Linked DNA regions of Homo sapiens: region 2 is linked to region 1. The links are contacts of gene promoters, found by promoter capture Hi-C in blood cells and fetal thymus (Javierre and others, 2016). All regions are on one chromosome and are shown on one strand. The core of a region is centred on a gene start or on the middle of the fragment in contact, and the rest is flanking DNA. Distances in the headings are between cores, read along the strand shown.

Evidence for each region. The method cuts DNA at HindIII sites, captures the fragments that hold promoters and counts their contacts. A CHiCAGO score of 5 or more calls a contact.
Region 2: a contact is called between a fragment that was not itself captured here and the fragment with the promoter of CZIB-DT in region 1, in 2 of 17 cell types (fetal thymus and monocytes). The highest score is 5.6, in fetal thymus.

The regions. Positions count from the first base shown.
Region 1 is chr1:53,218,629-53,222,462 of GRCh38, reverse strand. It overlaps CZIB-DT (CZIB divergent transcript), which reads right to left and starts at 2,103. Exons shown (of 1, transcript NR_185918.1): 1 at 1-2,103. CZIB (CXXC motif containing zinc binding protein) reads left to right here and starts at 1,829. Exons shown (of 8, transcript NM_017887.3): 1 at 1,829-1,893; 2 at 2,119-2,202; 3 at 3,540-3,596. The coding sequence starts at 1,888. RefSeq lists silencers at 1,498-1,557, 1,688-2,057 and an enhancer at 1,927-2,428. The HindIII fragment of the contact is 4,059 bases long and covers 1-2,395 here.
Region 2 is chr1:52,366,286-52,370,119 of GRCh38, reverse strand. It overlaps the pseudogene PLA2G12AP1. Among named protein-coding and RNA genes, the nearest start is that of CC2D1B, 2.0 kb to the right of the region's middle. RefSeq lists silencers at 1,314-1,393, 1,454-1,553, 3,536-3,834 and an enhancer at 1,674-1,723. The HindIII fragment of the contact is 2,779 bases long and covers 540-3,318 here.

The sequences.
Region 1 (3,834 bases), core at 854-3,353:
TGGTAGCTCTAGAAATATCTGGGAGATAGAGCCTGGCAAGGGGGCTTCGGGACTCTGCGTGGTGTTTTATTCTACTGTGGCTGGGATGGTATCCAAGCTGTAAGACAAAGTCCTCTTTACTTTCCCCTCTCCTTTCCTCTAAGGGAAAGGAGTCTCTCCTGGAGCCGTGAGCTGTGCTGCCTGGGGTTGGGGGACTGGTGACATAAACACTCCTTTGGCTCCCCAACTGGTATCTCACTAGGCTGTGTGCACCCCAAGTCCACGGGCTCTGAGCTCAGCACAGCACCAGGACTTGCCCAGGAATTGCAGTCTTTGTGGCCTAGACTGCCTTTCGAATTTATTTAGGACCCTGAAGCACTTTAGCCAGTGGTGGTGGGGCTCGCCAGAACCTGACCACTGGGATGGATGATTCCCCTCTGGCTAGGGTTTCTCTAAGTGCTTCCTCTGTGGGCACTAGCTGAATTCTGCCCTGAGTTGCTTTCCACTGTGACAGGGCAAAACTCAGTTCCAATGCAAAGTCCCATAAGCACACAGATTCTCTCTCTATGCCAGGCAGCCAGGTGCTGCCAGAGGATGAGGGAGGGGTGGTGGTAGCAATTCAAGACTGTCTTTCCTACCCTCTTCATTGCCTTGTTCCTTTTTTTTTCTTCTTTTATGAGATAGAGTCTCACTCTGTCACCCAGGCTAGAGTGCAATGGCATGATCTCAGCTCACTACAACCTCCACCTCCCGGGTTCAAACAATTCTCCTGCCTTAGCCTCCGGAGTAGCTGGGACTACAGGTGTGCACTGCCATACTCGGCTGATTTTTGTATTTTTAGTAGAGACAGGGTTTCACTATGTTGGCCAGCTAGGTCTCAAACTCCTGACCTCAGGTGGTCTGCCCGCCTCAGCCTCCCAAAGCACTGGGATTACAGGTGTGAGCCACCGCACCCAGCCATTGCCTTATATCTTGATGTGACGTTACAACCAGCTACTGTGATTGCTACCTGAGTTTTGGTTCTCATGAAGGTGCTTTCTTGTGTGGATAGTTGTTCAGTTTGGTGTTCCTGCCAGGGAAGAGGAGGAGGAGGATCACTGGAGGGTTCTATTTGGCTATCTTGCCCCACCTCCTAGAAGAGTCTTGAATGTGCTGTTCCTTTTACCGTTAATCTCCACAGCTCCTGCATGGTCTCAGATGTAGCCTGGACAGGAGGCCAGGTAAAATAAAGTTCAATAAACGTTATGAGAGAAGGATAAGCCAGGTGGGCTCCCAAAAAAGAGCCAGCTGAAGGGGAATGTCCAGTCGCAAGGACCACAGTGAGAAGGATGTGGACACAGGGCAAACTCTGGAGAAGGGCCTAGAAACCAGGTCTCTTGGGTGAAACAGGAAAGGGCAGTTTGAAGAAAGGCATCATCCCCAAATCTGATAAACCAATACATTCTACTTTTTAAAGCGTATTGGTTTATCTTTATTTGGCAGTCTTGGAACTCTTCCTTTTGTAGCTTTTCCCCTGGGCAGAGGGAGCTGACGTGATCTGAGAAGTTCCAGGGCAGGCAGAGTAGTGAAGAGCCTGGAAAGAACTGAGGGTCAGGAACTGTCCTGTTCGCTTAAAGCAGGCACAAAATTGGCGTTCAGTAACTGTCTGTGGCACCACCGAATCCTGGAGTCAGGCTTCCGCTGGCCTGAGCACAGGTTGCTCGCGGACCTGGCTGACCTCCACTGGCCCCAGATCCCCAGATGCGAAAAGCCCAGTGGGCCAGGCGAGCAGCGGCGCGCAGAAGTCCCTGCCCCGCGGCCCGGCCCCGGCCCCGCCCTACTGAGGGTGCGCAGACGGCACCCGCCTTTTACGACGCGCCGGAAAGCAACGGCAAGGGCCGCAGCCAGCACCGGGCGGAGAGGGCTACCATGGGGGTGAGGGGAGGCCGCCCGCCGCGGGGACACGGAGGGGAGGTGGCGAGGGTCTGGGAGGCAACAGCTCGCGCCAGGAGGAGATGAAGCGAGTGGGTGCGCGCTGAAGGAGCAGGAGGCAGAAGGAGTGTCTCCCTGTGGCACCCACGGCTGGGAATGCGGGAGGGTCGGGCAGGCGTGGGGCTGCGCAGGCACGGCTGACGCAGTCGCTCTGGCCCTCCCCCTCAGAAAATCGCGCTGCAACTCAAAGCCACGCTGGAGAACATCACCAACCTCCGGCCCGTGGGCGAGGACTTCCGGTGGTACCTGAAGGTGCGGCCGGGGCGGGGCCCGGGGAGAGGAGGCCCGTCCTGATCTCAGTGCTGAACCGGAGCCTTCTCTCCGGCAGTATGAGAAAATATTTAACCAGGCACATTAAGTGTTCGGGGTTTTCCTAGTTAGAATTTTACGTTTGCTTTCTATTAAAGTGTATTGGTTTATCTCTAATTGGCAGTCTTGGAAAGCTTCATTTTGTAGTTCTTCCCTGTGTTAAATATTTCGTGGTCTGTAAATGGACACTAAACGAAATGCTACTTGAAGGGACGCTTGTGATTATTTAATAAGGTGAATAGTTCGCCTTTCGTTTATTGATTTGGTTTTCTTTATTGTGAAATAGTTTAATTTTGTGCGTAATCCACCCTTCCTTAGCCCTCCCACACTGGTAAAGCTGGTACCCTAGTGGCATGGTCTACAGAGGCCTCCCCTTCCCCAGCAGTTCGAGGCTCTTCACTCTTCCAGATCCCAGAGCTTCTGCTCTGTTTTACTCCTGGTCAAAAATCCCAGCATCCTTCTGTACCTCTCAAAAGCCCTGTTTTTCGGGAAGCTGCCTCCGGACTACTTTTGTTTCCCAGGATTTTGAAGCCTGAATACCAGGGCTTACTTGGGAGAATCTGTTCTTTGGCTTGAAGAAGCGGAATCGAGTGAAGGAGACAGAAAAATAGAGTAACAATAGAGTGATAAGTGCTTATACCAGTGACATACAGGGCCTGTGGGAACATAAAGCTAACCAAGCAGAGTGGGTCGGGGGCCTGCTGAGGCCATTTCTCTTTTTTTTTCTTAATTGACACAGAATTGTACATATTTATGGGGTATATAGTGATGTTCCGATAAATGTAATGTATTGTGATCAGATCAAGGTAGTTAGCATATTCACCTCAAACGTGTATCATTTCTTTGTGTTGGGAGCATTTAATATCCTAGCTATTTGAAACTATATATTATTGTCAGCTATAGTCATCCTACAGTGCTATAGAACACTAGAACTTATTCCTCCCATATAGCTGTAATTTTGTATCTTCTAACAAATCTCTCCATATTCCCCCCCCTCACCTCCGCTGAAACCATTTCTGCACCACAGGTGCCTTGAATCCCCGGCCACACTGAGCACTTCATAGAGGAGGGTGGGCACGCCGGCATAGGAAACAGCCTTACCTATCCTTTGCCCAGAGATAGTTCTAGTTTTGTCCTTGTTGGGGCAGGTGTTAGGGATGAAGTGAGATTGCCATCAAGAAGGTAGATCATGAGCCTGCCCACCTCCCACTGTTCTTACCCTTTCCTTGGTGTCTGTGCAGCAGAGCCAGCTGCTTTACTAACATTCTTTTTCCCCAAAGATGAAATGTGGCAACTGTGGTGAGATTTCGGACAAGTGGCAGTACATCCGGCTGATGGTAACTGTTCCCCGCCCAACCCCCAACATAAACACTCACAAACACACATACACTTCTGGGCAGGGATTTGGGGAAACTGGCCTTCATCTCTCCAGTTCTTTGCTCCCTGCTTTTTGTGGTTTGGGAGGGTAGGTGTCAGTGTGATCAGCACTGGATTCAATAGGCATCTTTGAGGTATGAGGCAGAGTTCAAAATCAAGGGGAAGCCCTTTTTTTATTTTCCTCAGGAAGCCTTCCCA
Region 2 (3,834 bases), core at 680-3,179, 850 kb after region 1:
ACCATCAGATCTCGTGAGAACTCACTCCTATCACAAGAACAGCATGAAGGAAACCATGATTCAATTACCTCCCACAAGATGCCTCCCAGGACACATGGGGATTATGGGATTACTATTCAAGATGAGATTTGGGTGGGAACACAGAGCCAAACCATATCAGCCAGTGTGATGGTTAATAGAGCATGCAGACAGCCTATTGTGGGACTATATATATATATACACATATATATATATACACACATATATATACACACACACACACATATATATATACACACACACACACACATATATATATATATATATCCTATTAGTTCTGTTCCTCTAGAGAAACCTGACTAATGCAGCCAGCAATTCCATTCCTAAGTATATGCTCTAGAGAAATTCACATACGTACACCAAGAGTCATATACAAAAAGTTCATAGCACTCTATAATGGTAAGCCATTGGGAAAGTGACTTATTTTCATGCTATGGAATCATAACAGAAATGAAAATCAGCTAACTAGATACAGTATACATGTCAATTTGAGTGAAGCTTACAAACAGGGTTGAGTAGAAAAAGGTTGAAGAATTACACTGTATGTAACCAATGATATAATTTTTAAAAGCTGGCAAAAAAAATACTATGTATTGCTTAAGGATACCTACACAGAAATAGAAATGCTCAGGAATAATAAACACTAAATTTAGGATAATGGGTACATCTTTGGGAAAGGGAGGTGTTGCAATATGGGAGATGTACAGGTAGCTCCAACTATGTTTGTTTTTCTTTTTTCACAAAAATCAGATAGTTTTATGTTGTAAAAACATTAGTTATTTGTCAAAGGTTATGTTCTTCCGTCTTCATCTGTCACCAGCTGTCAGCATCTCCTTTAAATATCGGTTTTTTCTTCATAATGACACCTGCATGTGGCTCGTTGGCTGTCCAGATATGGTTTACAACCTAAATGTATAACACTGTCAAACAAGAGCTCCATTGTTGTTTCACATGCCTGAACATGCTAAGTTAGTCCTAGTGTTTTCTGTACTTCTCGGCAGATCTTGGAGAGGCAATACTGGAATTTCTCATCACAGTCATTCTTGCTTTTGCCACAGTTCTCATAGCACCTGTCGTGTTAGTTGCAACACTTTGTCAGGGAAGGGATACCAATGTTAAGATGAACGCCAAACAGTGGAGAGCCACATCCATTCGGTGGGGAGGGTTTATAACCATAACGTGGGAAAGGCTTAGATCCGTCACTGCATTTATACTGGCAGAGACCGTCCTCGCCTCCCAGGAGGTCCAAGGCGGCGTTCAGGTACGTGTCTATCTTATGAACGCCGTTCCGGATGGTCTTCAGGGTGGCCCTCCAGTCGGTGGTCTAGGCCTGCTCCAGGCACCTGATAACAGCGGCCATGAGGAGGAGCAGGAGGGTGAGCGCGGGGCGCGGGAGAAGGGCCAACCGCGCAGCGCCGGGCTCTACGGGTCCCCGAGCCGCGGCGGGGGGCGCGTCCCCAAAGAGCCCCCGGGAAGCGCTAGGCAGCGGCGCGGGCCCCGGGGTTGCAGCCGCCAGCTCCATAACCACGCCTCCTTCCCGGCTGGCAGGCAGGGCCTCGCTGGCTTTACGTGAACCGCCTCGGGGAGGCAGCGCGGTCGCGGGGACGCGCCCGCTCACCTGCTTTTTTTTTTCCCTTAAACTGGTAATAGATGTCCATGTAGTTAATTCACACAACAAGGAACTATTGAGTGCCTACTATGTACCATGCACTGCTGTAGACACGAGACACTTGGAGAAGCAATAAAAAAATTTCTCCTTCTGGAGCTTGCATTCTAGTAAATGTTAAATATTGTGTATCTTTGTTTATATCTTAAATGTTTCATTATAAAAATTTTTAAATAATTTTAAAAGGAATGAGAAATATGGATGTGAAATCTCAATTTAAATATGGTAATGGGCAGGGCATGGTGGCTCACGCCTGTAATCCCAGCACTTTGGGAGGCTGATGTGGGTTGATCCCCTGAGCTCAGGAGTTTGAGATCAGCCTGGGCACATAGCAAAAACATGTTTCTACAAAAAAAAAAAAAAAAATGCTGGGCATGGTGGCACGTGCCTGTGGTCCCAGCTACTCAAGAGGCTGAGGTGAGAGGATTGCTTGAGCCTGGGAGGTGCAGGTTGCAGTGAGTGGAGATCGCACCACTGCACTCTAGCCTGGGTGACAGAATGAGATCCTGTCTCAAAAAAAAAAAAAAGAAAAAAAGTAAGCAATCAGGAGATGGAAAAGCCCTTTGTCCAAGTAAACTGGGAGATCGCTAACTAGAAAACATAATTTAAAAGTTCAAGGCATAGGCAGGAGAGGAGATGGCAATGTTTTAGACAGAAGAAACTAATCCAGCAGTTTAACTTTAAAATACATTTTAAAACTTTTTTTCCTTTCTCTTGGGTTTCAAGATACAACCTTGAAGCAAACTGCAAAAGCCTTTTCCCTTAGCTGTAAAATAGACCCCATATCCCTCCCTTTCTCACTGTATATACTCCCTTCACATTTATCTTACTGTATGCTAGTATTTAATTATCTGCCTTCTGAGAAGTTCCAAGGGCTAATCTTGAGACAGACAAACCAAGCCTGGAGACACAGCTGCAAAATTCCAAAGATTACTTCAAGGTGGCTAGTCAACAGCGGGGCCATTGTGGAGATGAGACCAGCCCACGCTCCAGGTAGGCTGGGACCCAAGATAGCCACCAGAACAAGACACACAGACGTTGTACTCTGTACAATTCTTGCATGCTTCCCATATCAAATTTTCCTTTTAAGCCGTTCTCTTTCCCCCCAAAATCGAAGTGGTTACTTTAGATGGGAATCTGGCCACTTCCCCATTACTCCGCTCTCGGTTTTTTTGTTTGTTTTAGTTTGAGACAGGGTCTCACCTTGTCACCCGGGTTGGAGTGCAGTTGACAGCTCATTGCAGCTTGGACCTCCGGGGCCACAGCGATTCTCCTGCCTCGGCCTCTCAGTAGGTAGGACTACAGGCACGCACCACCACACCCGGCTAATATTTGTAATTTTTTGTAGAGACAGGGTTTCGCCATGTTGCCCAGGCTGGTCTCGGACTCCTGAGCTCAATCTCTTGTTAACTGGACTCTGCAAGCCGCAGGGAGAAACGTGCTTTCCTTAGAAAACTAGACTAGAGCATATTTACTGATGCTAAAGAGGTTGGTTTTGTATTTCCCTGGGCAAATAATTCTCTCTGAGCCTCCGTTTCTTCTAGAGATGATGTCCATCTTGCAGGATTGAGAACTGGTATAAGCTCCATTATGAAAAGTGACTGACACAAGCTTGGCAGAAAACGGGTATACTCCGTTTCTCTCCTTAATATCCTCCATGCCATTTGATTGCACAGCAGGGTAGGCGAGTGAGAACTTAGTGTTAGACTCTGTAAAGTATTTAAGATGTGCAGCGAGCTCTGCCTGTCTGAAGTTTTCAACGGACCGGAAAAGGATACTTTCAGGTGCTGAATTATTAAGAAACATATGGTGGGCCCCATTTCCATTTCCCCAGGCTTAAAGGACATGGACAAGCAGGTGAGCCCCGCCCCTGTCTCTCTTCCAGGGCGGAGCTTGGGTAGGCCCCGCCCTCTTGCTCGGTGGGGCGGGGCGAGGGCTGGAGGCGGGGTAGGTCCAGCGAGCGAGCGAGCGCCCAGCGCCTCGGGCTGAGTGAGGGAGGAGGTTCGGTGGAGAGGCTGCAAGTGGGCGAGGGCTGGGCGCAGCGACCTCATTGGAGCCGGCCGGTGGACGCCCCGGCGGAACCGCCCAGAGTTCCTGTCCTGCGCTACCTACCCGAACGCGCCTGCGCG